5 separate regions of the Homo sapiens genome follow, and all the other regions are linked to region 1. Evidence: promoter capture Hi-C in human tissues and cell types (Jung and others, 2019). All regions are on one chromosome and are shown on one strand. Each heading gives the region's core, a stretch centred on a gene start or on the middle of the fragment in contact. The rest is flanking DNA. Distances are from core to core; before and after follow the strand shown.

Region 1 (6,235 bases), core at 2,500-4,999:
TGAAACTTACCATGTGAACAAACACTAGTAGTGTGTTCTAATTCCTAATACTTTAAATGTACACTTGCACACAGGCATTATGTTATCACCACCATTAGCACATCCTTTATTGTTTTTCTTTATTCCTTGTCACTCTTACTCTTTAGCAACTTCCATTCTCTATTCCCAGTTTGGTAAGAGACTAAGTCTATAAGAGCTTCCACTAAAATTCCAAAAGGCTAACTTTCCACCCTGCTCTCATTTCTACATGGCCCTGTTCCCACCAGCATCTAAGATCCCATCCACGATTGAAAGTAGAGTTTCTTCTCATCTCCTAGATGCCTTGTCCATTCTCCTGCTGGAAGAAAGCCACTAAGTACTGGGTTGGGCGGGTGGACACATGTTCTGCCGAGCGCCATTCTCTCCCCTGCCTGTGTAAGTGATACCAGGATCTTGTGACCACAGGCAGCTCATGCTCCCGAGGGCATGTAAGGCCTCTCTTTTCTGAGAAAGTCCGTGGAAGCAGAGGACAGTGTATGAGTTTCCATGGAAAACCTCTTGTCAAGGATTCCAGCTATGACTCCTTCTATAGAACAGGATAACTGGAGAGTAGCCAAGGAGAAATATATCTCCCATTTAGAAAATATCCAAAACTCTGATTGGTAAAATTAAGTGTAACAAAGATGATACTACTTCCTGAATTCATATATTAATTAATATTTAATTTAGTTTAAATGTCTATTTAAAATCTTCTGGTGATGTTTAAACAATTGAACAACTTGATAGTAAAAATAAATCCAGACACATAAGCAGATAAAACTTTATTTTTTAAGTGATTGTAGAATCATATATCAGCCTATTTTTAAAAAATGAAGATCAAATAAATATGTCATAGTGTGGATATTTCATAAATTAAAGCTATTATGAGAACTTAATATATGACAAACTAGACTTAGTAATATAAGACAAATAATGGAGAGAAGAAAATATCTACTTAAGAATTAGTATTGGGATACCCAAGCATGATATGGAGAAAAGTGAAATTAGACCCATACCTCCATACAATATAAAACGTAGTGTTAGACATTTTAAAAATAGCTACTCAAAGTAGAAGAAAAAAACTGATATATGTACTAGAGTAAATAGACTGCTATATCTATAAAAGAGATACATTTACATCAGAACATGAAATAGATCATCATCATACCATAGATCTGTTCATAACACTAATAGAATGATATAATAAATATCAAAAGGAAAACAACAAAATGAAAAACATTCAACACATATTTATTGTCCCAAATATATAAAGAATTGTTGTTAATATAAATACTCTGCTTTCACTCCAGCAGTAGTCAAGGAAGATTAAAAGTTTATACAAAAGGGAAACCTTGTCAAACTGTCAAATTAAATTGAATCATATGGAATATATACAGCTTCATAGTAATTAAGTAAATACAAACTAAAACTCATAAATAACTCACAAATAACCAACTCTCTATTTTTTTAAAGCCAGTGTTGGAGAAGAGTGTGAGAGAAAGCCCATCTATATAACTGGTGGGTTGGTATTTCTGAAGAGCAATTTGTCAATATGTAGCAAAAGCTACAAAACTTTAAAAATCTTAAATCTATCCATTCCATTTGGGAAATATATGAGAAGAAAAAACTTAGAGGAGAAAATGAAGTTTGTGTAAGTTTCAATGTAGCAGTATTAGTTTTCCTTCCTTCCTTCCTTCCTTCCTTCCTTCCTTCCTTTCTTTCTTTCTTTCTTTCTTTTTTTTTTTTTGAGTCAGAGTCTTTCTCTGTTGCCCAGGCTGAAGTGCAGTGGAGTGATCTCAGATCACCATGACCTCTGCCTCTCGGGGGTCTCGTGCCTGAGCCTCCTGAGCTGCTGGGATTCCAGGCATGAGCCATCACGCCAGGCTAATTTTTGTATTTTTAGTAGAGATGGGGTTTTGCCATGTTGGCCAGGCTGGTCTCGAACTCCTGACCTAGGTAATCTGCCAGCCTCAGCCTCCCAAAGGTATGAGCCACCACACCCGGCCTATTTTTCATCATAAAAATAAGACACAATTCTAATGCACAATTAAAAGGAAAATGGAGGTATAAAAGCAAGTGCTCTATATTACAGGATGGGATACAGTACACTATTATAATTAAAAAGGTTTACTGTGTGGATTATGCTGATCCATGGAAATCAGTAAGTGAAGTTTTGATAAAGTGGAGCAAGTGACGAATACACTGAACTGTAAGGTCTTTGGAGATGGGCCACGTCTACTTATATTCAATCCACAGGGCTACACCTAGTTCTTGGTACACAGTACATGCTCAGCAAGAGTCTGTTGAATGAACACATACATGGTTTATCTGTTTGTCTCTTCCGAGTTCTTGACTTCTGTCTGCTCTGACCTCTGGCAGCTTTCCACTAGTTTCTAGCTTTCATTCTGCTTACCTGGATTTCGGAACTCTAGCCTGCCCCACTCTTAGATAAACGCATGCCCTCTGTGGCCCTGGAACCTTAGTGACTTCTGCTATACCAAAGTCTCCACGCCCAGGGTGACACGCAGCTGCAGCTCCGTAAACCTCTAACATGATGTCAGCAAATATTAAAAAAAAAAAGTTTATAAAACAATGAATAAACTTTGTTAAAGGTACAAATGAAAATTAGCAAACATGGGAAGATAATTGAGTGAAGAGTTTAAAGTTAAAAACGAATTGCAGTCATTCTAGGGGAAGGAACAGTTGTATTTGAAAACCTGTATGGTTACATGAACTGCCTAAAAAACAAGCTAAGGAAAATTAAAGCTCAGATTTATATATTTTAAGAAATTAATTGCAATTAATTTCCTGGGATTAAATAGCATTTCCTCAACCCCAGCTGTCATTAAAAAGAGGCAAATACAGCCAAGGACTGGATCTCCGGAAGGCTGACAGCACTGACCCTCAAGAAGGCACCGGCTGACAGACAGAACATTCTGCCCTAATATGTGCTGAAATTCCGCTGAGAGCAGAGTGGTACATTGAACCCTTTAGGGGCTTACAAAAGAAGTGTCCTGTGTTTTAGAGTCACAGAGTTTTGCAGAAACAAGTATGAATTCACCTAGTGGCCCCCTGCACCAGGTCTTTCCTGTGGGCACTGAGTGCCAGACACATCAATATGTAATAGCAGAATGAATGACTGAACGAACGATTGAATGAAAAGAAATGAGAGGCAGCAGGTTGTCAGATTCTATGAGGCAATCACAGCATCAGGTGACCTTAGTATCTATTTGAGAGGACTGCCATTTATTCTCGGGAGCGCACGGCTCTAAAGAGGCCCATATCCAGGCAGTGAGCTCTGGTGGGGGGCGCCTTTAGATGCAAGAAGGAGGAAACAGCTCGAAATCCCTGGGCCTGAGCGCGGCCCGTGCAGGCCGGAGGGTCAAGAACTCTCCACCGGCGGCAGCGGCCCGGTGTCTGCCCCGGCTTCGCCCCGGCCTAAGGCTGCCTGTGCTATAAATACGCGGCCCACATGCCGCGGTGACACGGTGTTCCCTGGGCTCGGCGGGACAGATAACATGAATGTGCCCTTTAAACGTCCCAAGTTGCAGGGACAGCCCCCGGCCCAGCCTCGCTCCCGGAAGCGCCTTCGCCCCCGATGCCCTCTGCAGCTGGGAGGAGGGGGCGCCCCGCACCTGCCCAGCCAATGCGCGGCGCGAGCGCCGGCCGCGACCCGCCTCCTCTCGCGAGAGCCCGGCGGGGATATAAGGGGGAGCTGCGGGCCAGGCGGCGGCCCCCTAGCGTCGCGCAGGGTCGGGGACTGCGCGGCGGTGCCAGGCCGGGCGTGGGCGAGAGCACGAACGGGCTGCCTGCGGGCTGAGAGCGTCGAGCTGTCACCATGGGTGATCACGCTTGGAGCTTCCTAAAGGACTTCCTGGCCGGGGGCGTCGCCGCTGCCGTCTCCAAGACCGCGGTCGCCCCCATCGAGAGGGTCAAACTGCTGCTGCAGGTGAGGACCGCGCGGTGCAAGAGGCGGGCGCGGGCGCGGCGGGCCGGGCGGGGCGCGCGATGCGGCGCGAGCTGCAGGGCGCGGGGCGCCGCGGAAAATCTGCGCCAGGCCACAGGCCCGGGCGCCCGCCCGCCCGCCCGCCCGCCCGCGGGGGAAGAAGGTGCCCTCTGCGTAGAGACAGGTCCAGCGTCAGTCGCAGATTCCTGGTGTCGGGTGGCGCCCGGCGTTCGGGTGTCTATATATGGAAACCCACCCGGAGCCGGTTTACGTGTGCCAGATCCTGCGCCCGTGACAGCACGGGCGTGCACTCAGGCCCGGAGGCACCTAGTGATTGCCAGTATTTTTGGCACCGTCTTATGCGCACGCACCTTTACAATAAAAACATCAAAATAATCATCACCCAAGAATTCCCTTATCGTATCTCATGCACAATGCTGTATGTAGGCTGACGCCTTCATCTTTATGTAACCTCTGTGAGAGAGTTATTCTTCTCCATTTTACAGATGAAGCTGAGGTTTTGAAATATTAAGAAACAATTTTCGGAATAAACTCAGATCATCCTGTCTCCAAATCTTTTCCTCCCCTACCTGGTCGCTGAATGGTTTATCATCCTCTCGTGTTTTCCTCCACCTGCCCAAAAGGTCAGGGCCCCTCAATGAGGAAGAGCCCAATTTGGGAGTCAGAATTACTAACAACAAAACCCCCACAAATTGCTCACAACGGCAGCAAACCCTTAATAATTGATTACTTGGATTATCTGCTTGAAAACTTTGGAGGCCTAATGTTTAGTGGATTTATTCTCCTTCCTCTATTAGAGCATCTAGTAGAGATCCTCATCTCCAGGGTGATCAGAGTGACACTGAGAAATTGTCATTTTTTGGCCATCATGTCTATTAAATCCAAAGCCCTTTGAAGCAGGGAGTGTTACTCATTTCTGTCCCCCAGTAAGCCCCTCATACAGTTCTCAAACCTAGGGAAAGTGAAATAAATAAATGGCTATAGCTTTATATAATTCAATCACCTTTTCAGTTTATTTGGGGCAATACCTTTTCCCTCAAATACCCTAATAATTGAAGCAACATTGGATTATTTTGGCTTGTTATCCAGTAACTAACATGGATAACAGTATCCATTTACACGTCCTCAGTATCCATTTGATTTCCTCATCCTTTTTTTCTTCAAAAAAAAAATCTAGGAAGTGCAAACCTTTTTTTTTCTCCTGTCCTCTTCCCTTCTCTCTACCCTGCCTGTCCTCTGTCACCCACCCTCCCCTCCACCAGGTCCAGCATGCCAGCAAACAGATCAGTGCTGAGAAGCAGTACAAAGGGATCATTGATTGTGTGGTGAGAATCCCTAAGGAGCAGGGCTTCCTCTCCTTCTGGAGGGGTAACCTGGCCAACGTGATCCGTTACTTCCCCACCCAAGCTCTCAACTTCGCCTTCAAGGACAAGTACAAGCAGCTCTTCTTAGGGGGTGTGGATCGGCATAAGCAGTTCTGGCGCTACTTTGCTGGTAACCTGGCGTCCGGTGGGGCCGCTGGGGCCACCTCCCTTTGCTTTGTCTACCCGCTGGACTTTGCTAGGACCAGGTTGGCTGCTGATGTGGGCAAGGGCGCCGCCCAGCGTGAGTTCCATGGTCTGGGCGACTGTATCATCAAGATCTTCAAGTCTGATGGCCTGAGGGGGCTCTACCAGGGTTTCAACGTCTCTGTCCAAGGCATCATTATCTATAGAGCTGCCTACTTCGGAGTCTATGATACTGCCAAGGGTGAGAGAGGGGCATCGGGGAGAAGGAGGGTGGTGTGGAAAGAGGATCCTATGGGATCTATAACTCACAAAGGACCTGATATATATTGATCTTGTTTTTTCTAGTCTCTGGGATAATTGAGGCTTCTGAATGAGGAGGTGATGTGCATAAGTTAATAGCTGAAGCGTTCCTTGTGTCCTCTACTGAAATAAACTCTGGCCTTTAGTTATTCAGAGAGGAGGAGGGGGGAGCCTGTCTCCCTCTAGACACAGCCATAGCAGTTACTGAGTTTAACTTGAAGCCACTTCCAATGCCCTGTATACAAGCTGAGCACTGCCCCTCCGGGGTCCGGAGAGGGCAGCAGCCACCTTTGCTGTCTGCCTGGTCATATGTGAAGCACCTGCACAGGGGCAGGTTCCCCGCAAGGTCAGAGCATGGAGCTGGAGGTGCAGTGGCCTCTCTCCCTCCACCTGCTTTCTGCTGAGAACAGGCACTTCATAGCCGTTCGGCTTCTGGGCTCTG
Region 2 (6,235 bases), core at 1,399-3,898, 460 kb after region 1:
CGGTCACGTAAAAAAAAATAATGGTTACAATTCAACTCCATTTTGCAGAATGGTAAACCAAAACCCAAAGATACTGGATAATTTCTTAATACGACAAATAGGTAAAAAACAAACAGAAAAAGAAACAAAATGGTAATTTCGATGTGCACGCTATTGCATGAAAGATTACTATGATGGACTACTTGGCCTACCTTGGCTAAAATCAGCATCTTAATTTTGACGCTGAGGTAGGTGCAAATGTCCTATAAGGTGATGTAAATAGATTATCTGGGGAGACTGTCTTTCGCCCTTTCCCCTTGGTGATGTAACTCAAATGGCAAGTCGCTTAAGCAGAGATTTGTAATGCAGCTGCACTCTGTCGCCACCTAGTGGTGAGCAATGGCAGCAACAAGCTGAGAGTTGTTTCTGCTTTATCTGCCCCTTTTTATCCAAGTTCCCAAGGCTGGAAAAATTTTAAAAGCCTATTTTAAAGGCCGCAGAGTGATGTGGAATAGACAGTCATCTGTTTTCCTAACCATGTTCTTCCCTCCCCACGTTTTAAATTTTTGAGAAAGCATCCCTTGTAAAGCCACCAGCATTTTTGGTCCGTGTCCATTTCTATTTTGACTATCTGTGCAGGCATTTCCATTTCCCCTAACTTCTTAGCAGTTTTAAGATAAATATAGAACAATATACACTTGTGACATTCAGAGAGGCTTACATGAGCTGAACCTAGAAAGATGGCTTTCAACTGACACATTACAATCACTGTGCTGGGCATTTTGAACAAGAATTATATTATGCTTATATTTCCTTGATGAATCTTAAGAGTAGAACAAGAGAAAAATCCAGTGAAGCATGCTGCGGTTTTCATCGTATCCTAAATATGTATTTTTTTCTGTAGCCCTGACTATGTAAGTATTTTTCTGTAGCTATTTTTTAATGTTGTCAAAAACGGATACAAAAGAGACAAGTTTTAAACACATGCTAATTTCCAAAGCCAGAACCAATCACAAGTTGCTGTTCATAAGGAAGCTGGTTTGAAACATCATGGAGTCTGTAACATCAGTAAAATATATACTTTCCGATCTTAGTGAGCTACAGTCTGTTGAAAAGCCGTCTAATTTATCAAAGCTTCTGCAGTTATCTCTGGAGGATTAGCTATATTTAGTATCAAATAATTCTTAAAGAAGGATTGACTGTTACTTTAAACACTAATGCAAAAAAATCTCTGAAAGCAATATAAGCAGTGCTAAAGTGTTTTTATCTTTTTTTATAAAATATTAGTTGTCATATTTGCCCACCAGAATTCGATGAAATTCTCCTAATAATACCACGTTTATGTTTCTAGAGGCTTATTTTTCCTTCTTAAATTATGAAGGTAAAACACAACTTTGCATAAATCTAAAAAAATAGAATATTTATGGTTCACACAAACACACGTGTAATCTGACATACAAATACATAATGTAAAAATCAGGCAAAAAATAAAAAAAAAACCTTAAGGGGAACACAAGCATACCATCTCGTGGACCCACAGGAGGGTTATAGATGGGTCCTTTTCACTGCAAAAGAAGCTTATGTTTTGCTTTGGCTCTGGAAGGCCATTCGGGGGAGTCTAAGAGTCTCTACAAATTGGCATTTCTGTCTCTATGGCAACACAAAGCTCTGCCTCAGCAACAAAATGAGGTCTTCCTATGCAATGCAAAAAGCACAAAGTGGCATGAATGCAGAATAATATCGACTTTTCTTTAGAAATAAAAAATGAAGACTTCTGTGAAATCAAGCCCTTGAGAACTTCTTGAAATGCAGAAGCACGGCCATGCGATAGGCCAGTCAAGGTTGAATCCGGGTCCATTAAAACAGAAATGAGGAAAGGAATCCTGACTTATGTCCAGATGAAAATTTCCAAACTCCTTGGCTGCATTCCTTAGAATTGATAGTAAGTACCATTTAGAGTCCATGTATTTTAAAGTACTGTAGATACTATGGAACGAAGTAGCTAAGGGAAAGTAATTTGACCTTTAAGTTCAATCAGAGCTGGCAAGAAATAGGAAGTGGATAGAATCCAGACAGCAGTATGGGGACAAAAGGCAGACTGAGAGGATGTAGTGCACATCACCAGAGAAACAGAAGATGTTAGACAAGAATCATGGATTTAAAAAAAATCCAAATTGAATGACACAGAAGCAAACATGACCGGAAGTGTGTGAGTTCGGCACTGTAGATGCTTGGCAACAGTTTTTTCTTTGCAGGAGAAACGGTGACTAGAAAGCAGTGATTTAGTGTAGAACCATGAGACAGATGTAGACCACAAAACACACGACACTCTTATTTGTAGAGTAGAGAATCTGACCATGTCTTTGTGGAGTTTGGAAACCTCACACACACCTAAAAGGGAAGCACATCACCAGGTGGTCGCTTCATCTTCAGGGTGTCTCCAGCCTCACTTTAAGGCCAGTTCACAGCAAAGACAACTAAGGAAGAGCCAGCCCTGGGGGCGGGGGAGGTGGCCAGGATGCCTGCCACAAAGTGGGGGCATGCTGACCCTACCCTGTGGGAACCGCTGAGCCCTCTGACAGGTGAGCCGCAGAATCTCCTAGACATCACTGGGCTACGAGGAGGCTTACCCAGGACACATATCTCGCTTTTTACGTCAGCCTGGAAAATGTACAAGAAGTTAGTTAGCTCTCATCTTCGTCACACAGACTTCAGGAGGAGCTTTCCTGGCTGGCTTTTTCCATGCACACACAGCATGCCAAACTCCTGCACAACAGCAGGGCAGGGAGGGTCCACAGCTTCTCCAGCTGCTTATACAGTTTCCACACCACAGGCACCAGCTGCCATCTTAACATGGCACCCACAGGCACAGCAGAAAAAGGTTCACAGAGGAAAGCTGGCATAGGGAAGAGGCCAAGAACATATAAGAAATGTTATATCTTTTTTTGTCTTTTATTTTTTTGAGACGGAGTCTGGCTCTGTCGCCCAGGCTGGAGTGCAATGGCACAGTCTCGGCTCACTGCAACCTCCATCTCCCGGGTTCGAGCGATTCTCTTGTCTCAGCCTCCCGAGTAGCTGGGATCACAGGCACCCGCCACCAGGCCCAGCTAATTTTTGTATTTTTAGTAGAGACAGGATTTCACCATGTTGGTCAGGCTGGTCTTGAACTCCTGACCTCAAGTGATCTGCCTGCCTCGGGCTCCCAAAGTGCTGGGATTACAGGTGTCAGCCACTGCGCCCGGCCAAGAAATGTTATGTCTTTCATAGAATGCTTAGCAATTGGGTTCAAGATGCTCTCAAACCTGCCCTGCTTTTTCATCTTATTGAAGGGATGCAAGGTGAGATAGAGGAGAATTTGGCTTAATGCCTGTCAAATTTCATGGACTGTATCAGACATTTGTTGGAGGCAAAATTTTCTAACACATAAGAAGAAAATAAGGCCTTTTTGGGGGGAAACATGGTGAAATTTGATGAACTACTGAAGTGCCAACCTGTGGGCTGGACTGTTTTGGTGTTTTTTTTTTATTTTCAGAGTAAGATCTTTCATATGACAGTGAGTAAGCTGACCTTCTTTTGTGTAGGTTTTATTTTCCTTCCAATAGCGGACAGGATCTGGCAGTGTACTGCCTGGTATTTGATCTGGCTTAAGAGAACTTCCGGAGGAATAAAACACGCTTAAATAAAAGCATGTGGTTTTCTCAACTCTCATTTAGAAAAGTTTTCCTAATTCTCAGTAATGATTGACCTCAAATCCCCAGCCTCTCGGGATGAAATGTGTTTGGCACCGTTGCTTAAGTGTCGTGGCAGACGATGCTTGATGCTCTCCACATCCATTCTCTTCTTGGTCCTCAGTAATGGGGCCAGGCTGTTGGGTAGGCACATGGCCATTCTGGATAAAGACCACATTTCCTGACTTGTAGCTGGATGTACTCATGTCATAAGCTGAGACCGAGGGGATATATGCAATTCTGGGACTTGGCCTTCAAGGGAGAAGGTGTAATCTCCCATCTTTTCTCCTTCCTGCTGGTTCGTGTGAGAAGGGAACTACTCGAGCTGCCACCTGGGACCCATAGCGGAAGCTTCTCTCTGAGGATGGCGATGAGCCCACATCAGATGGAAACTCCTGGGTTCTCTGATGACTGCGGGGCCACCATACCAGTCCCGGACACCCTTCATTTATGTGTAAGAGCAATATATTTCTACGTTGTTTAAGCTATAATTATTTTGAGTTTTCTGGGACTGTGCTTATCCCAGTCTTGACTAATACAGGGGTTCAATGCATATCAGAGCTCTTAGAGAAAAAAAATAACCCCATTTAGCTTTTAGAATGATGTGGATCATAACAGCTGGAAAGAGCACGTGAACATATTAGGAAAAATCAGGGCCTGATTTCATGTTGAAAACCGTGCGCCGGGGATCCCCTTCTGATGGGACTGCTTTAGGGTGACGAGACTTCCTGGTGGGACCACAACCACTGAGTTACTTGGAAGAAACCTAAAAAAGAGCCTCTCACTCTCCTCACAGAGCTTCCGCTGCAACTTGAGACCACATGCGGCAAGTCTCTTGCAAAATAGTCTCTCGGATGGAAATGGAGGCTCAGCTTATAGAGGAGCTGAGATTTATACTATTTTTTTTGAGATGGAGTCTCGCTCTGTTGCCAGGCTGGAGTGCAGTGGCACGGTCTCGGCTCACTGCAACCTCTGCCTCCCGGGTTCAAGCAATTCTCTGCCTCACCCTTCCGAGTAGCTGGGATTACAGGCACCTGTCACCACGTCCGGCTAATTTTTGTATTTTTGGTAGAGACGGGGTTTCACCATCTTGGCCAGGCTGGTCTTGAACTCCTGACCTTGTGATCCACCCACCTTGGCCTCTCAAAGTGCTGGGATTACAGGCATGAGCCACCGTGCCCAGCCAATTTATACTATTTTTTGTTATGAAAAAATCATTATTTTAAAAGCAGATGCTCAGAAGACTGGGGGAAATATTGGATTCAGATTTATACATTAAACATAATTTATGTATCTTTCAGTCATCTGTAATCTATAAAGTGGTAGGAACTTTTACGTTTATGGAAGATTCTGGATTGCATTTACTTTTATGGAGATTGTCATTGTCTTAGAAAACACTTTAAAGAATGAAATTGCACTGACTTAACATGAGTTAACTAAACAATGGTTGATGGGGTTGATAAAAATGTTATTACAATGATTTCATGCGTGCTATACTATGTCATTAAAACATTACTAAGAGTTTATTTTCTCTTTGCTTTCAGTGCTGGGTTATTTCTTTTCTTTACAATGAGCATCAGCATTCTTGAAATGGAAGAAATAAAAAGGCTTCGGACTCAGATTGGCAGAGTTTGTAACTGGGTCAGATGCAGAATTAAACTATAATGGCCTAAAATTACGAGTTGATTCAATTTGTACTTAAATTTACAAGCACAAATAACTTCAGTGAATATATTCTTTCAATGACTACAAAATAGATTTATAAGGTTTAAAAAAACTCAGTGGGAGATTCAAAAATTGAGATTTCCTCCTAAATAGGAGATAAAACAGAGAAAATCACTTTGATTTGCTGGAGTTAGTCAGAAGTATCTCATGTGGTCATTAAAATATTCTTTTAAAACATAGTTATTGTGAATACCTCCATTCTCTCATGTCATTCTGCAAACAACGGAAACTTAAAGAATATACGAGAAGAATTTTGTTCTTGCAGAAGAGTAAACCTTTTTAAATCCTGGCTTTGTCCTGATGCTACGATGGTGCGTCCTCCGTCTTTCCAAATTAGAGAACTCAGATTCTAAGGCTACTTTCCCTCTTATTGACTAAGCTTAAAAACCGAAGAACAAGTTAAAAAAAAAGACAAGAAATAAATACCTTGGCCTTAAAAATAAAACCACAGACAGAAGAGAAAAAAAGAGAAATTCTTAGCCTTAGGCATCATATAAAGTGGCATTATTTAAAACATTTCCTAATTATTTTCTGCCAGCTAAGAAAAAAAACCTCAAAGAGCAAAAGCAATTAAAGTGTTTCATTTTTTACAAAGTTCCTTTCACGCCTAACAGGAGCACATAGATAGACTATGTCAGCGAATGGGTTTGGTGGTAGTGGTTTTGAGATTGTATAAATGGCACTTCCTAATACAGAACCTTAGCTGTATTAGAGCCCTAAATTTTTACTTATGTGCAGAGGCTCTCATTTCACATTCAAAAGACTGAATGTGAGGGTGAGCTATTGTTTGAAGTCTGTCACCT
Region 3 (6,235 bases), core at 2,029-4,528, 410 kb before region 1:
TCAGCATATATAGCTGTGCTATGTAAAGGAGGATCTTTCAAAAGACAAAAAAGAAGCACAACTTTAAAAGTCTGGCTATTTGGGCAGTACTGTAGTTTATTCCCTTACAATGGAGTACAAAACAATCTTTGTTCAACTAACAAAATCAAAATCAATTACACAGGCCACTTCCCAAATGTTTTTGATCTCACACCTCAACAATAAAAATTGTAAACCCTATCACCAATAAATACATGAATATTTATGAATAATAAACCTTTATTACTGCACTTACATGGAATTATTTTTGGTTTCTGAAACAGGGCCTCACTCTGCCGCCCAGCCTGGAGTGCAGTAGTGCGATCTCAGCTCACTGCAGCCTGAAGCACCTGGGCTCAAGCGATCTTCCTGCCTCAGCCTCCCAAATAGCTGGGACTACAGGCACATGCCACCATGCCCAGCTAATTTTTTAATTATCTGTAGAGACAGGGTCTCACTATGTTGCCCAGGTTGGGGAAATTTTAATGAAATAAAAATATAAATCGGAAGTCCAACATTTTCTTTCCTCATCCCTGTCAGGCGTCATACACTCTGCATGAGAGACCACTGCATTAAACTATAAACTCAACAGGCCTAGAGAGGTCACCTCACAAAGTACCCTGCATATAGTGGGCCCTCAGTATTTTTGAATGAAAAGCCCTTTGGGGAGATTCCAGGCCTCCCTTACTTCCTCTCTGCTTTACTCTGGGATGCCAGAGCCTTTAGATAACATAAAAAGATACCTTGAATGAGGAAGAAGATAAAAGAGAAGGAGAGCAAATGAACTTGGTGGAAAGGCACAGAAAGGAGATGCTAAGAGGAGAAAGATGCTCCTAGCGGGTGCTCAGGAAAGAGGAGTAACAGGAGAGACCCAGGACTTAACGCAGGGGTAGAGAGCTTGGAGAAGAAGAGGTGGCCAGTGGTGACAGAGCTGAACTGCTGTAAGGGGGCCTGGTAAGAGCCAAGCAACCATTTCTTCATGCTCAAAGTTTAGCATGACAGTGCAAACTTCAACATTTTTTCAACTAAACAGCTGCTTAAATAATGAACATATCAACTGCACAATTTTTAAGTTAGTAGTATACTTTGTATTGCCCTCCACGAGGCAAAGGGATTTATTTACTCTATTGCTGTGAATAACAAGGGGGGAAAAAAGAAATAGAACAATCCCAAACGTCCACAGATAACCACTCACATAAACTGGATTCTTACAACTTCATAATAAAAAGACAAATAATCCAATTTAAAAACGGGCAAAGGGTGAACAGAAACTTCTTCAAAGAATATACAAATGGCCAATAATCATACATAAGAAGGTCAAAGGGAAAAAAAAAGCAAATGGTCAGCCATAAGTACACGGAAAAGGTGCTGAACACCATTAGTAATTAGGGAAATACAAATCAAAACCACAGTGAGATAGTACTTCACACCCAAACAAACACCCAGAAAATAGCAAGTGTAGGCAAGGATGTGGAGAAACTGAAACCCTTGGGCCCTGCTGGTGGGAACACAGGCACTGTGGAAATGGTGATTCCTGAAAATATAAAATATATATGATCCAGCAATTCCATTTCTGGGTAAATGTCCAAAAGAGGAGAAAGCAGGGACTCAAACAGATATTGATACACTCATGTTAGTATTAATAGCAGAATTATTCACAGTCAAAAAGCAGAAGTAACCCAAGGGTCCATTAACAGATGAGTAGATAAAAATAAAATGTGGTACATACAGACTGTTCTTCAGCTTAAAAAGGAAATTCTGGCTGGGCGCAGTGGCTCACGTCTGTAATCCCAGCACTTTGGGAGGCCGAGGCAGGTGGACCACCTGAGGTCAAGGGTTCAACACCAGCCTGGCCAATATGGCAAAGCCCCATCGCTACTGAAAAATACAAAAATTAGCCAGGCGTGGTGGTGGTGGTCCTGGGGGGTGGGGGGGGGGGGCGCCTGGAATCCCAGCCACTCGGGAAGCTGAGGCAGGGAGAATTGCTTGAACCCAGGAGGTGGAGGTTGCAGTGAGCCGAGATCGCGCCACTGCACTTCAGCCTAGGTGACAGAGGAAGACTTCGTCTCCAAAAAAAAAAAAAAAAAATTTCTGACTCAGGCTACAACACAGATAAACCTTGAAGACATTATGCTAAATGAAATAAGCCAGTTACCAAAGAACCAACTATTCTATGTTTCCTTTTACATCAGATTCCTAGAAAACAGAATGATGGTTGCCAGGAGTTGAGGGGAGGGAAGAATGGGAAGTTGTTTAATAGGTGGAGCATTTCAGTTAGGAAAGATGAAAAAGTTCTGGAGATGGATGGTGATGATGGTTGCACAACAACGTGAATGTATTTATCTGCTACAGAGTTAATACACTTAAAAAAGGTTAATATGGTAAACTATATTTTACCACCCATACCCCATACACACACTCACACCCACAATGAGGTGCTGGGATGGCTAGAATAAAAAACTCAGTAAGTTTTGGTGAAGGTGTGCAGAAACGGGAACTCTCATATACTGCCATGGAATTGTAAAGTGGTGCAGCCGCTTTGTAAAACAGTTCCTCAAAAAGTTAAAAATAGAATTACCATAGGACTCAGCAATTCTGCTCCCACTATATGCCCAAGAGAAGTGAAAAAAGTCCACACAAAAACTCTTACACAAATGTTCACAGCAGTATTATTCACAGTGGCCAAAAAATAGAAACCACCCAAATGTAACTGATAAATGGGTAACAAGCTGCGGTATATCCAAACAATGGAGTATCACTGAGCTATAAAAACTTACAGGAATGAGGTAGATACACGTTACAACATGGACAAACCCTGAAAACTAAGTAAAAGAAGCCAGTCACAAAGGACCAGAGTCTAGGATTCCACTGATATGTCCAGAAATGGCAAATCTGTAGAGACAGGAAGGAGATTCATGGCTGCCAGGGGCTTGAAGGAAGGGGGAAGAGGGAGTGACCACTCATGGGTACAGGGTTCTCTACAGGATAACAATTTTCTGGAATTAGATAATGCAGACGGTTGTACAACCTTGTGAATAAATTAAAAACCAATGACATGTACACCTTAAAAGGGTGAATTTTATGGTATGTGAATTCATTTCCATTTTTAAAATTATGGGGTTTTAGGTTCAGATCTTTTAGATTTAGATTTTAGACAAATAGGACATTTTTATCAAGTCATAATAAAAGACATTATTCTGGTGAATACATTTCACCTTATAAAATGTATAATATTTTCTTTAAACAAAAAATTAAACCAAAAGCCTTCAAAATTCTCTTAAAACTTATTCCAGCAAAAATGCCTGACTACTGCAGTTCTAGATGTGGGGACACATGGCATTTTCTCTGTCATTTCTGGCTTCTGGAGTGCCCAGTGACACAAGCAGCCCACCCTGACAACTCACACACTCCTGGCCAGCCTGGTACTGGCCTTTTACCTCACACTCCAAGGAACACAGGTGAAGCTCTCCCACTGGCTCTCCCGAAGCATCCCCTGCCTCCATGAGTTTAGGACAAAGGAAAATTACCCATACTCTTCTCCTCCCTAAATTAATGGCTCTATCAAATGGTAGAGTGAAGTGAGAAATGTATGCTATGTTCCCCTTATTACAGAGTACTATAGTAAGCGTCCTCATGTGACCAGATTGTTAATGAATACTACTAGACGAGTGCCGCTTTGATAATGTTCTTAGTTTCAATGTACCCGTAAGTGAGGAAAATTAATTCAAATTATCAAGTACTCCCCAGAGAACATTATATTTACATGCAGGCAACTAATTTTTATATTTGAAGATACTTCTATTTTTTATTATATCTGGCCTAAATGTTGTTGCTTTAGAGTTATGTTAGGATAAAGATTTAAAGTACTAACCAAAGGTCTCATAAGTTTCTTCATCTTTCTCATTTTCACCCAGCCTGCCAATGCTTGAGACATCAGAATTATCAGGAAAGTCGAACACGTCAATAGGCTTGCACTTTTGACCAGCTTTCTAAAAGTGAATAAAGTTGAGTCATTGAGTTGGCTCTCACAAAGAACAATAGGTTGATTTATACAGCAAGAATATTCTTGTAATCACTGCTGCCTAAGGAAGCAATCCTTATGCATGGGGTGATGGATTCACTACCTACCCTGATTGGGTCATTATACAACATAGACATGTATGGCAAGATCAAATCAGACCCCACAAATGTGTACAATTACAATGTTTCAGTTAAAATAAAAAGAAAGAAGCAAGCTAACACTTTTTGGGGACATAGAATTTTTTGATAACCTAAGGCATGGATTGGCAAACTTTTTCTATAAAGGACAAGAAAGTAAATTCTTTTAGGCTTTGCAGGCCGTAAGGTTTCTGTTTTGACTACTAACTCAGCCACTGTCACATGAATGCAGACAGTAACCACACAGAAAAGAATGAGCATGGCTGTGTTCCAATACAATTTGACTTTTGAACACTGCAATTTGAATTTCATATCATGTTCACATATTATGACATAGTCTTTTTATTTTATTTCAACCATTAAAAAAGGTAAAAACCATTCTTAGCTTGCAGGGATATACAAAAACAGGTGGCAGGCTAGATTTGGCCCATGGGCCAGTTTGCCTAAACCTCTGACCTAGGGAAAGTGATGGGTCCTGTCTCCGGAAATATGCCCATATACCCAAAAGTTCATAAACAGTTTTAAGGGTACACATGTGTAAAAACTCCTGACTAAAGGACACCAGGGTTTAGAGTTCAATATACTGATACACCCATGAAGTCTGCTACCCCAAATCTAATGAAACATGAAAACATACATAAAATGAGAAAAACTTTCATGGTAGTTCCAGAAAATGTGGAAGGGTACTATTAACAGATACAAAAATAAGAAAATTCTGGAAGGTATAAAGGAGGTCAAATAAAATTGGCAAACCATATAAAAACTTGACCATTCAGATGCCCCCAGTGAAAGAATCATTCCTGGAGTGCTTGGGGGTGGAATGTGGAGAGAGCTGGCAGGTCTTCCAGCCCCTCCCAAGGCATAGGGGGCCTCCACCAGGGACTGCCTTGCAGAGGGAAGGACAGGAAAGCTGAATCCATTCCAGGCACTCTGGGCTTCCAGCTAAGGCTGGAGCTTAGAGAAATCCCTCCGAGGCACACTGTACTTTGGCTACCAATGGCAGGGGCAAGGCAGGACAGCTGAGAGAAATCCACCCAAAGAACCCGTGAAGTAATGCCGGGGTGGGAGCAGAGCGCTGAGCAAAACCCTGCAGGGGGATCCCAGGGTTTCCCAGAGGGGAAGAGAGCTATCGTCTGCAGGCTGGGGTTAAGGACTATGCAGGACAGAGAAAGCCCAGGGCAGAACAAGCAGAAGGAACTCCTTCCGGGGTGCCTGGCACTGTCATACACTGTTAATGTGAGATTACAATGTCAATCACACAAGCCACTGGAAAAAAAAACTGGAATTAGCTATCAAGAACGTTAAAGAAATGCACATGCCTTTAACATACATTTATTCTAAGACTCTAAAGAAAAGTAAACCTGTAATGTGAACTAAGTGGAGTATCATGAAATCATAAAACAATTCTTGAAAAGTACAATGAGGAGAAATGGCTTTAAGTGAAAAAAGCTTACAGCACTGTACAATTTTTACATGAAGTCAATTATCTAAACGAAAATAAAACCAAACTCGGCTCAGAAATAAAGGAAATTCTAAAACATTAACAAAAGTCATTTTATCCACTATACCGGAAAAAGTGTGAGGAAAATGAACACACTTTTTCACTACAATAAACATTGAACTTGCCAAGTGAAGTCTACAAAACTGAGGTACCCAAAAAATGTTATTTTGTACTGTCAATTTTGAGAAAACCACAACACAAAAAGGTAACTTACATCTTTCATGGAATGTGTTCTTTCTAAAGTGTTCTTTGAACGTCTTGCGCTATTAAACAGCAAAAAAACACAAGAGTTAGGAAATAGTTAAAATAACTGAGGAAACACCATAGTTATGACCCTTTCCGCGCATTTTTACCAAAAAAAAAAACAAGAACCCATATTCCACAAATTTATTTTTTATAGGTCAAATCCTATCACCAATGTATAAAATAACATACCTCTCCCCCTCAGGGACATGGAAAAGTTGGAATCCTGCTGTTAACTTTTTCCCTGAGGCCTTAATCAATCAGCAGTGATTGACTTTCTCTGCACAGCTGAACAAAGGGGAGGTAGGCTAACGC
Region 4 (6,235 bases), core at 2,293-4,792, 390 kb after region 1:
TAAGACTAGAATAATTTTCTTTGAGTTAAAACACAGGGCCAGGCATGATGCCTCATGCCTGTAATCCCAGTGCTTTGGGAGGCTGAGGTGGAAGGATTGCTTGAGGCTAGGAGTTTGAGACCAGCCTGGGCAAAATAGCAGGACCCTGTCTCTACAAAAAAATATATTTTTAAAAAGCTAGGCATAATGGTGCACACCTGTAGTCCCAGCTGCTCAGGAGGCTGAGGGAGGAGGACTGCTTGAGCCCAGGAGTTTGAGGCCACAGAGAGCTATGATTGCACCACTGCACGCCAGCCTGGGCAACAGAGGTAGACCTCCTCCTCTCACCAAAAACAAAACAAAACAAACAAACAAACAAACAAAACACACAAGCAGGTGTATCTCAACATATTTGCTTTTAGAGCCTAACTTAGCTTTTCTAATATACCTTAATAGAGTTAAGTTATGTAATACTCAATTCTGATTTGGAAAAGTCTAACTTTTCTTTTAGCTCTGGTTAGGATGAGTGTAAGGTGGGATGAGTGGGGGTTTGTTTCTGCATGTGTCCACACTAATTTTAAACACACATCTGAACAATAGCTTTTCATTATCTAAGTCCAATATCTATTGATATCTAGAGCCATACCCCTGATATTGGACTTAGATAATGAATAACTATTGGATATCTAAGTTGAATATCTTAGATACTGAATATTACTAAAATTTACTAACAATATTAATACTAAATAATACCATCTTATACTTATGCAAAATGTTACATTTGCAAAGCTCCTTCTCACACGTTTGACCATTACAACTCTCTAAGACAGGCTGGACAAGGAAAACTGGCTCTGGCTTTCAGAGGAGAAGAGGTGTCTAAGTAACCTGCGGCTTTGCTGCTGAGCAGCTGTACAGCTATGTCACCAGCTCCTTCAGAAGTCAGCTAGGACAGGTGGTTGATAGTGATGGCCAGATCCCACTTCTCATTTTGTATTCAACCTGGTTATTGCTGTCCTGAGACCTCTAAGGAGACAGTTGATGAGAAAAAGGAAATAGAGAGAGGAATGAGAGAGAAGGAGAAAACATGATGTCTTTACTTTTTCCTCGTTTTCAAGTTCAGCGAGCCCAGTGATCAGAAAATGACTGCGAAATTGGCCTGATTTTACTAAGTTAAACGATCTGTTTTCCCTGCATTACTTTATATTATTACTTTATTGCATTATTATATTCTTTCCTTATTATATTACTTTGTATTAGCATGCACAGTTTATTACTGTTTTCCCAAATTAGAAGAGAGAGCTGAAATGAGGCATAGTGTTTGTCAGCGGATTATTTTTTATTTAGGTTCATTAGGGTCTCAAATATCAAAAGTACCAGAGAGATCATTGAACACGGTACTGCAGTGAATCACTTAGCACCATGTTTTCAAACTTGTGTGATTATAAGAATCACCTGGGGCCCTTGCTGAACGTTAAAGGCTCCAGTCCTATTCCAGATGCTCGGAATCAGGAACAGAATCTCTAGGAGAGGAGCCAGGGAATTTATGCTTTCAACAAGCGCCTCAGATGATTTCTGTTATTCACATCAACTTATATTACTTGGATCTGTTGGGGAAAAAAAAGCTAACTGAAAACACAGATAAAGCATCTATAATGTCCTATTTATGTGGAGACGTAAGGCAAGCCCAAGACATGGTCCTGAGATGATGTTTCTGTTAATAAAAACGACTGAAATAGTTATGGAGCAAGACAAGCACACACTGAAGCACTGCACGGTAGGCACGGACCAAAATCATGAGAAACCCCATTGTTCATTCTCCATCCCTAGCAAATAGACTCCGCGTGCCTCCTTGGCATCCACAGCCCTGCAGCACCTGCCTGCCAAAGACATTTCTAGAGCCACACCCCACACCGGTTATATTAGAATCTCTGCATGCACCTGGGCATGGCTGTGTTCAGAAGTCACATGGGCGGCTTTAACATGCTGCCAGGGCTGGGAACCATCACCGTATTACTATTGAGAACTATTATCTCACATAATTCTTAAGACAATCTTACAACATAGTTATCTCTTTTTTAAAATGAGAAAATGGATGCTTGGAAAGTATAAGAAGCTTGGTTAGGGTCCCACATCCCGAGAAAACCTGAAATTCCCATCTGGGTCCGCCTCGCTCTATAGCTCAGAATCTTCTATCATCTCGCATTGCCTCTCCTGCAGGTAATCTTTCCTTCAACACCTCCTAGCTCTTTGACCATACTTTTCTTGTGGAATTCTGGATAGGTTGTGTGATGGCAGTTCATATACATGTTCCTTTTTTTCTGCTGATATATTATCTTCTCAGGGGTTAGAAGCCCATCTAAGCCACAGTTATATGCCCACAGTGTCTTTCACATACGAGACATTCTGCACACAGTAGATGCTTGTGGGATGTATGAGTTACACATGAACCAGTACTTCCACGTAGACACGGTCTGTGTTAGAACAAAATTGAACAGGTTTTTATTTACATCAACCTTTCCACTACATTTGTGTTTTACCCTGGAAAAGAATTGCATTCCATTGCAAACAGTCCTTTCTAAAAGTTTAAACTTCAAATGTAGTTTATATTACATGAAATTTCAAAAGTAGTTTATGTTAAAGTCATACACTGTTCTATCTTAAAGCCTGTACAAATTAGGAACACACTAACTTTTTCTATATTGGTACTCAAGCTCATATAGCATTCTCAGTTATAATAATCTTGATCTTGGATGTGCTCTGCATAGGAAGGAGGGAGGAGTGAAGAGGGGGAAGACATTTTAGTGAGAAAAGACACACTGGCATCAGATATAGACAATCATTTTATATCATGTACACAAAAGAAGCTTGCCCTGTACACTAGCCTCCCCTTATTCACGGTTTTATTTTCTGCAGTTTCAGTTATCCGAGACCAACTGCAGCCTACAAATAGTAATTGGAATATTTGAGAAGTAAACAACTCATAAGTGTTAAATTGCAGCTGTGCTGAGTAGCGCGATGAAGTCTTACTCTGTCCCACCTGGGTCATGGATCATCCCTTTGTCCAGCGTATCCACCTTGTCTATGCTGCACTCTTCACCTGTAAATCACTTCGAAGTCTTAGTTATCAGATCGGCTGTCACAGTATTGCAGTGCTTGGGTTCAAGCAACCCTTATTTCACTTAATAATGGCCCCAAAGTGCAAGAGCGCTGTGCCCAAGTTATAAATTAAACTTTATCATAGGTATGCATGCATAGAAACACACACACACACACACACATACACACACACACACACACACACACACGTATATATATATAGGGTTTGGTACTAATGTAGGTTTTAGGCAACCATTGGGGGTCTTGGAATGTGTCCCCTGTGGATGAGAGGGGATTACTATATTCCATATTGAAATCTTGTCAAAGCAAACGATTTGCAACTTGTCTGTGAGAGTAGATCTAGCTTCTGGATGGTCCAAAAACTTAGACTCTTTAGAAGCTTCTTATAAAAAGAAAAGATGCTCACTTGAAGAAGTGAACCTTCAAATTCTTCTGTGAAATGCTTAGGCCAGTTATACACGGTGTTTAACAACTCCCTCCCCTAAACTGAACATCCAAAACTGAAATTTTATATTGCACAAGGTCTATCACACTTATTGCCTAGAAACTGCTTTCCTAAAAATTGTGTTTATCACAACCAGTTGCTAAAAATTTGTTTTGAGAATGTCTGGTGTTTGATTTACCTTACTTTTGATTTTTTTATAATACAAAGATTCATCTGGCTATTTGGATTGTAAACAATTACGGGCATGAGGGCCCTGTGTCCTAATTTTGTGAACTGTAATTTCAATTGATGGAGGCAGTCATATTTGTCACTCTCCTACAAACTCTGGTTGGAGCCCCATTGTCTAGCAGTATTGCTGTCGTCTGTATTTGTATAGTGTGAGGCGGGGAGTGAAGGGTATAGCTTGTAGGAGGACAAAAGCTGATTTAATGGGGACTCGATTAAACACATCTCGTTTATGGGACTTTTTGTGGCTTTAAGTGTAGATATTGGTATTTCAATTCTTTGTATATTAAGAACTTATTTAAAACTGACACATCAGCCAGGCGTGGTGGCTCACGACTGTAATCACTTTGGGAAGCTGAGGTGGGCGGATCGCCTGAGGTCAGGAGTTTGAGAGTAGCCTGGCCAACATGGTGAAACCCTATCTCTACTAAAAAAAAAAAAAAAAAAAAAATTAGCTGGGTATGGTGGCGGGTGCTTGTAGTCCCAGCTACTTGGAAGGCTGAGGCAGGAGAATCGCTTGAACCCAGGAGGCAGAGGTTGCAGTGAGGCGAGATCGCGCCACTGCACTCCAGCCTGGGAGACAGAGCGAGACTCTGTCTCAACAAAACAAAACAAAAACATGACAAATCAACTCACAATAAAACAATTCTCACTTATCTTTTTGTGAAATATTTTTGAGAACACATTCTATACCTATTTATAATAAAGTCATGTAAAAAGGGAACAATCTAGTCAATCATTCATACCGTGTCTATATTTATTCTACAACACATATGCTCTACTAGGCACTGTGCTAGGCCCTGAATGGCCCCCAGATTAGAAGGTTTCTGCCTTCGGGGAATGTGCAATCTGGTGGGATACAGATGCAGTGGAACATCTGGTACAGGCATGACATAAGGAGGGGTTATACAGGCCGAAAGCTACAGTAATCAACCGGATGAGATGGTTGTTACTGAAAGAAGGCTTGGGGAGAGGCATTTGAGTGGTTTCCACAGGCACAGAGGACAGTGGTGTGGTGTGGGGAAAAATGGTATCAGGAGCAAAGACACGTCAGGGAAATCGTAAGTAGTCCAGAGGGCGGTACCACTGCCTACGTGTGGAACAAGGGGAGGAAAGGGAGAGACAACAAAGGGAGAGGAAAGAAATGAAGTTAGCAACTCAAATTGGGATAGGAGATGGTGAAAAGTCATGAATGTTGTGCAAAGACACGCATTTCACTCTCTACAAACAAGTGATGCCGCTGAAGGATTTTTAAGAATGAGAAAGGAGCAATTTGGCATTTTCCAGAGACGGTAAGAATATGCTGTGTGAATTGGACGGGGGAGCCAAATGTCTAGGCGTGGAGCTAGGAAATCTTGAAGAGGGACAGTAGTAGAAAAAATGGAAAGTGGCAGATGTTGAAGACAGCATCAATAAGGCCAGTGATGAACAGGATGGCACAAAACAACTCTTTAGAAATATTGGAACAGGTGTCCATTTTCACATGTGGCCTTCAGAATGCAGGCTTTGGAGGCACACAGACCTAGCGTCAGAGCCTGTCCCACTGCTTGTGATCATCGGCGGGTTAATAAATCTTTTGAAGCCTCATTCTCCTCATTTGCAAAAGGGGATGTCACTACTGCTACTCTCCTAAAGATTATTGTGAGATTTCAGTGAGTTCGTGCACATAAAAGGTTCCCATCAATGCCTGGCAAGCAAGAGAGTACAATAACACACTTACAACCTCACACACTGCCTTTCAAAATGGTGTTAAAATGTTAAAAGCAGTACAACAATTCACCATTTAACAATACTGATAGTTATTTTTCTGTAATACTTTTCTGTAATACTTTTTATTCTTTTCCTTAACAAATTTCAATATTCTTATCATTTCAGTGAAAATATTCTGAATTAGGTGTTCACTAAAGCATAAAAGTTCTTATTGAATAAATAAATGTTCTTATTTATTCAATAAGAATCTACTATATACCTGGCTTTGGGGACACTTGGGATACAAAAATGATTTGGTTTTACCTGCTGTCCTAGAATTAATTAAAGAGAAAAGCCATAATCAAGTGAAATCATATTTGGTCATAAACTGTTATTGAACCAAATGTCAAAAATGAGTGATACAAATTAGTTATGAGTTAGGAATTCCAGATAGAATTGGTTTCCCTAATAATAACTGCCATTATATCAAATATATTTACCAATAGCTATTGTAGTCCAACTCTGGAATGTAAGTACTGCTTTAAAATAAACATTTATAATGTCAACAACTCAAAATTTCAAGCATATGATTAATTATATTGACATACGATTATACTATAATAGCAAAATATTTCTTTTATAAACACCTTAAAAGTTTTCGTGACAAAATTATTTTGGTTAGAATTTAATATAAATATGATTTATTCTGTGTTAGGATTCAAAAGCTTATTCAATTTAAATAAAAACCATACTCCAGAAACTAAAACATTTCTTAGTAGA
Region 5 (6,235 bases), core at 2,111-4,610, 350 kb before region 1:
AAGCTCCCCGATGGCACAAAAGTGCAGCTAGAGATGAGAGCCACTGAGAAGCAGGGAGCTCAATCTTTATAAATGGCTTCCTTGGTGCAGTTTTAAAGTACTAGGTTTAAAAACTCTAGGCGGGCTGCTTCTATCATTCAACAAACTTCTGACCCCTTATCCAAGTGCTGGGTCTTGCTCTTTTGTTTCAGTTTAATTCTACAGTAGCCTAAGAAAATCAAAGCTTAGAATAAAAAGATCCTCCTGGGCGGGGGCGGGGGGGGGGGGGGGAAGGAAGCAAATCGAGACCTGCAAAGCAGCTCCCTTCAATGAGTACAGATCAAGAAGACTGGACATACTTTCCTTCACCTTCTCTGACACATCCATAAAAGGACTTTCATTTTCCAGGGGGAGCAAGCGACCAAAGAAAAGTTATGTGACTTGTCTTCAGATCAGAGGAGAGTCAAAAGCATAAAGTAAGTCACCATGCTCCTCGATGAATGTATATACATTTACATGTATACAGCAGGTCCTCAAATAACGGCATTTCATTTGCACGTTCTCCTCACATCTATGTGGTTTTTCCTGGGAACTCTGGGTTCCTCCCACATCCCAAAGCTGTGCCTGTGAGGTGAACTGGTGCATCTCTACGGTCCTAGTGAGTGTGGGTGAGCGGAGTGAGTGTGTGAGTGTGAGTGGGTGTGAGTATGAGTCTCCCTACGATGGGAGGGTGTCCTGGCCAGGGCAGTTCCCACCTGACATCCTGAGCTGCCCAGATGGGCTCCAGCCGCCCACGACCCTTAACTGGAATAAACAGGTAAATATCTTATTTTTATCAATTGTTCCTAAATGTCTGTATCGCTCACATTTATTTCATGTTTAACATAAGAAGCGTGGTCTTTATTTAGAAGTTTGGTGATGTTTTTGTGACTAGAAATACGCTGTGGGAATGTAACTCCTGTTCGTATCAATTAGCCTATGGGAAAAACTGGTTTCATTATAGTGGTTTTCAAGTTACAGTTTCCAAGAACCCATCAAAGACATTAACTGAGGACTTACCGTATATGTGCTCTGTGGTGGTGGCAAAGCACACACACACACACACACACACACACACACACACACACACTGTTTCATGTGCCATATGTTAGGCTGATCCACCTGATGGATATTTACTATCACAGACAAACCCTGACCTTGACACCAACTTTGAGAATGTTCATAAATTAAATAATACACAAGTAAGCTTGCTTTTCCTTTGTAATAGGGCTTAATGCACGTGCTATGGGAACACTGGGACAAACTCGCCAAGCTGAGACATCCAATGTTACCAGTGTCAAGTAAAAAACAATAGGCACTTTCTTTTTTTTTTTTTTTTTTTGAGACGGAGTCTCGCTGTGTCACCCAGGCTGGAGTACAATGGTGCAATCCTGGCTCACTGCAACCTCCACCTCTCCGGTTCAAGCGATTCTCCTGCCTCAGCCTCCTGAGTAGCGGGGGTTACAGACATGCACCACCATGCCCAGCTAACTTTTGTATTTTTAGTAGAGACGGAGTTTCACCATGTTGGTCAGGCTGGTCTCGAACTCCTGACCTCGTGACCTGCCCGCCTTGGCCTCCCAAAGTGCTGGGATTACAGGTGTGAGCCACCATGCCCGGCCAATAGGCACTTCTTGAGTGCATATTACATGCAACCTATCATGAGGGATAGAGCCAGCAATACCACATGGTTCCTGACCGTAAAAAGATTACAATGTAGCTAGCAGTGGCCCAAATAAAAGCTAAGCATCAGAGGATTTAAATAACAAAGCACAGATTCCAAGACCATTTTTAGACAAGTACCTGGTATAAGCAAAAATGAAGTGGCTAAAATAGAAAGAGGGGTGGAGAAACCAGAGGTACTCCCTCCTTCACTGAGGATGCATTAGTGGGGCGCTCACTGTGTGCCAGGCACTGTCAGTGCTGTGAAAAGAGATGACTGATAACCACCCTGTTCTCAAGGAGCTCGGGCTAGGGGGGCAGAATGCCAGGTGAACACCTCTGTGCCATCAGGAGTTATGCAGAAGGAATATAACATGCTGGGAGGGAAAAGGGAAGAAATGCTTCACTCAGAGGTAGGGGATGAAAATGATAGACTAGGAAGGTTTTAGAGAAAAGGTGAAATGCAGTGAGTTTTGTAAGATTAAAGAATACATCAAGCACCCAGGCTGGGGGTAGAAAGAGGCTTTATGATCAAGAAAAAAAAGTGCATGGCCGGGCATGGTGACTCGCGCCTGTAATTCCAGCACTTTGGGAGGCCGAGGTGGGTGGATCACCTGAGATTAGGAGTTTGAGACCAGCCTGACCAACATGGAGAAACCCCATCTCTATTAAAAAATACAAAATTAGCTGGGCGTGGTGGTGCATGCCTGTAATCCCAGCTACTCAGGAGGCTGAGGCAGGAGAATCACTTGAACCCAGGAGGTGTAGGCTGCGGTGAGCCAAGATCATGCCATTGCACTCCAGCCTGGGCAACAAGAGCAAAACTCCGTCCAAAGAAAAAAAAAAGTGCACAAGTCTGGGCATGGTGGCTCACACCTGTAGTCCCAGTGCTTTGGGAGGCTGAGGCAGGAGACTCACTTGAGGTCAGAAGTTTGAGTCCAGCCTGGGCAACATAGCAAGACCCCATTTCTAAAAAGCAAAATAGAACTGCACAAAGCCTCAGGGCTGGGAGAGAGCAGAGGTAGTCGTGGCTCTGCAGGAAGTTCAGTATGACCTGAGGGCCCTATACAGGAGGCCTGGGAGGGACAGAGGCTGGAAAGGAGGTATGCTGGATATCACAGGGTTTCTTACACTACAGTTAATAATTAAGGGTAATCCCATGAGCCAACATTTCCCAAGTATCTTTAACAGAACACTGCCATCCTGGGATGTCAGTATTTCTTTCTCAAAATATGGGTCTCATGGTCAAGTAAGCATGAAAAATGCCGGATTGGGCCCAGTTCAACAGACCTCTTTATTGCAGGAAACGTCAGAGCCTATTGTGCACTGGTGTAACATGTGACTCACCATAAAATACAGGATGTGACACTCACATATTTGACCATGGAGCCCCCAGGGCCACAGGGAACATCTAGAGGGTCCAGTGAGCTTTGGGACCGACTCTGGGAAAGTTACAGTGGACACAGAGGGGCCTGAGCGATCCTAAGGAGGCGAAAGATAGGAGCAAATGTGCATTTCTGAAAGGCCACTCGTTCTTCATGAAACACGGCGAGCGGGAGCCACGCAAATGCAGGAAAATGCTTACTTGACACCTGTATTCCCCTCTGGAAACCTTCGTATAATGTTGTGACATCATCATAGAAATACACCAAGGGCTCGTCGCTGTCAAGTAGTGCGGATCTTCGTGCACCACCACTACCCTATCAAAAAAGAAAGGGGGGCAGGTTAGAAGGCAGTGAAACATCTATGCACTGTGGAATGGCTAAATCAAGCTAATTAACATATCCATTCCTTTACATTCTTGTCACTTATCTGTAGTGAGAACACTTAAAATCTATTCTCTTAGTAATTTCAGGTATATGGTACATTGTTATTAACTACAGTCACCAACTAATAGTGAACATGGTCACCATTTTTATTAAAAATAGATGTCCTGAACTCGTTCCTATTATACACCATAAATACACATAATTTGTATTTGTCCATTAAAAAATAAAATGCTTAAAAATTAAATATAAAGTCTAATATGCCCCTGTGGTATCCGCACCCCTCTAGGCGGCCACCTGCGGAACAGCTGCCCAGTGAGTGAGTGCTGAAAGACTGCAGTGCAAGATGTGCTGATGTAAACCAATCATTCGCCTGGAGGTAAACACAGGCTTCGGGGAACCACGGCTAAGTCAGAAAGATGCCTGAAGAGAGAAAACAGGTTTACAGACCTACAAGTGCTGGTCCTGCCGGATAAGGCCAAAGAGAGCAAGAGAAGAGCCACAAACTGCCACCACTACACACATTGACAGTTCTCAAGCCACTGCCATCCACAGCACAGAGGACTGATCCTGTTCAGCTCTGGTGGAAATGAAACCCCATTTGGTTATACTTCTAAAATGTTACCTATATTCTTTTTGAGACTATTTCCACTATTTTATCTCCTCACCAAGCGCAATATCATCTGTTAGAAACTTCACTTTCTTGCATAGCATCTCTAACAGTTAAAATCATCAGCTACAAAACATATGCATGTGCAGACACAGGTCTTTATTAGTTTTAGGTGCAACATTTATAGGTGTGCAGATTTGACATCGCTGTGCACCTTTCTCTAAGTCGTCTTCATCTGTTAGCTTCCTGAGTATATTTGCTATGTGCAAGAACTCCTAATGATGGATAAGGCGGCAGGGCCTAGCCTCCCACAGTAGCAGCAGTAGTCTTTACAGGTAGCAGGTCTCCAATGTGAGCTGCTGAGTCCTCTGGGGCCAAAGGACACTGTAAGGCATCCAGACATCCACAGAAAGCCAAAAAGCAGTCTTTAGAGACTGATAAATAAAAGCTCAGTGACTATGACGTTAGAGCCTACCTTTTTTTTTTTTTTTAATTTCAGAGAGGGGCCTTCACTTTTACAACAGTCTGGAAACCCTTGGAGAAATTAGACTGTGATATGATAACCTCTGGTACCAAGAGGAGAGAGCTGTCCAAAAGTGGAAGAGATCGTTTCTGGCTTAAGGTGTGATGAAACAAAACAGGAGACACCAAAAAGAAGTGTGGAAAAGCTAGGTCTCAGAGTAGGGCGGCAGGCTGAGGAGGGCCGCGCTGAGGAGGAAGTGGATGGGTGCCAGGGGATGAACTCACAGGGAGACCCTTTAGAAGGGGATGACTGCCTGATCTGTTTCCATGGACTCTTCTATTTTTATTAGGATTATCCATTTCTCTTCCTACAAGCTCTTTTGCTTTTTGTCCACCCTTAAGTTATAATGTATATACTGTTTAAAAACATTTAAGTGATACAGAAGTATATCAAGGAAAAATGATGACTATTAGTAGTTTGGTAAATTCCTCCCAGTCTTTTTTTTATGCTTATACATTTATAGACATTCTGTCAATATCTACTGTGTGCTACATGTGTGTATTTCACTCTTGATCCCAAACTGCTAATAGTTTTCTGGAGTAAATATGACCTAACCATATCTTTTAATCATCACAATGTCTTCTCTCTCGGCAGAAACTTTCTAACACCTATGGCTGTGATTCCAAACATGCTTACTAACTACAGCACACTACTTTATGAAGCAAAAACGTTATTCTCTGTGTGCATAAGAATGGGAGAATATCTTTGCTTAGTGTCACGCATTATTGTTACTTAATCGCTGAGTCTGTTTTCTTTTCTGTAAAATGGAGACATCATGAGTCCACTTCCAGGGTTATTTTTTGTTAAAGAGGAACTTTCCTGTAAAATATGATTGTGTAGAATATTACTTGTGCACCCGATAACATGCTCTAACTACAGTACAAGTCCTCCATCACCTCAGTCTTGACTCCAACAAATAGCCTGAAATTCAGAAGCAATTTTGTGGCTTTGTAGTGAATATCAGAAGCCTTTTCAACCCATGAAGCCACCAAACACACCGAAGGCACCAAGGCTAAGGTAGGAAGAGAAAGGGGGAAAGGACAAAATGAGAGAAAACAGGAAGAATGAGTGGGTGTGAAAAGAGATAAGAAAAGTACCAAGTATGATGGTGAAGTGTGGTTGTCTCAGCATGGCCTAGACATGCAGGTGGCCTGGCCGCCCACAGGGAGGTCCTCACGATGCTCTGCTTACAAAGGTGCCTTCTATACCTCTTGACACAACAGAAATGCATTCATGGTCTTTTTCAGTGCTCTCTCTTCAAAAGCAACACCACTTTCTGCACTCTGCAGAGGAGTTCCCCTAGCTGTGAATGGGCAGATGGGGATAAGGTGAACAAGACACAAGCTTGTTCTGAAGGAGCCCACGTCTTGTCTCTAAGTGACCACAGGGACTCCAGGGAACCCTGGCTGAGCAGAAGAGTGCAGGGAGAGTCAGGATGAACAGACAGAAGCAAGCCTGAAATCTCAGGTGCACAGGCTCATTCTAGAGCCAAGCTTCTCAAAGTGTGCTCTGCGGAACACCTGGCACTGGTTAGGAAAGCAAATCACACCAGACCTGCTGAATCCGAAACTCTGGGGATGCGATCCAGCAATCTGTGCTTTAAGAAGCCCTCCAGGGGATGCTAAAGTTTGAGAAGCACCTTCCTAGGGACAGCAG

The links. Contacts are between HindIII fragments. The study calls those that stand out against the background at their distance.
Region 2: a fragment that was not itself captured here is called in contact with the fragment with the promoter of SLC25A4 in region 1 in 1 of the 25 tissues and cell types used here (lymphoblastoid cells).
Region 3: a fragment that was not itself captured here is called in contact with the fragment with the promoter of SLC25A4 in region 1 in 1 of the 25 tissues and cell types used here (dorsolateral prefrontal cortex).
Region 4: a fragment that was not itself captured here is called in contact with the fragment with the promoter of SLC25A4 in region 1 in 2 of the 25 tissues and cell types used here (heart right ventricle and lymphoblastoid cells).
Region 5: a contact is called between a fragment that was not itself captured here and the fragment with the promoter of SLC25A4 in region 1, in 2 of the 25 tissues and cell types used here (liver and spleen).

What each region holds. Positions count from the first base shown.
Region 1 is chr4:185,139,517-185,145,751 of GRCh38, forward strand. SLC25A4 (solute carrier family 25 member 4) reads left to right here and starts at 3,750. Exons shown (of 4, transcript NM_001151.4): 1 at 3,750-3,967; 2 at 5,248-5,734. The coding sequence starts at 3,857. RefSeq lists a silencer at 3,522-3,821. The HindIII fragment of the contact is 7,904 bases long and covers 1-6,235 here.
Region 2 is chr4:185,597,416-185,603,650 of GRCh38, forward strand. The region is part of intron 24 of SORBS2 (sorbin and SH3 domain containing 2); the gene reads right to left. Among named protein-coding and RNA genes, the nearest start is that of SORBS2-AS1, 13 kb to the left of the region's middle. The HindIII fragment of the contact is 4,572 bases long and covers 363-4,934 here.
Region 3 is chr4:184,725,029-184,731,263 of GRCh38, forward strand. It overlaps CENPU (centromere protein U), which reads right to left. Exons shown (of 13, transcript NM_024629.4): 2 at 5,892-5,940; 3 at 3,890-4,007; 4 at 1-34. Among named protein-coding and RNA genes, the nearest start is that of CENPU, 6.0 kb to the right of the region's middle. The HindIII fragment of the contact is 5,564 bases long and covers 497-6,060 here.
Region 4 is chr4:185,527,732-185,533,966 of GRCh38, forward strand. The region is part of intron 1 of PDLIM3 (PDZ and LIM domain 3); the gene reads right to left. Among named protein-coding and RNA genes, the nearest start is that of PDLIM3, 4.7 kb to the right of the region's middle. The HindIII fragment of the contact is 5,961 bases long and covers 563-6,235 here.
Region 5 is chr4:184,785,352-184,791,586 of GRCh38, forward strand. It overlaps ACSL1 (acyl-CoA synthetase long chain family member 1), which reads right to left. Exons shown (of 21, transcript NM_001995.5): 3 at 3,266-3,380. Among named protein-coding and RNA genes, the nearest start is that of ACSL1, 37 kb to the right of the region's middle. The HindIII fragment of the contact is 5,273 bases long and covers 725-5,997 here.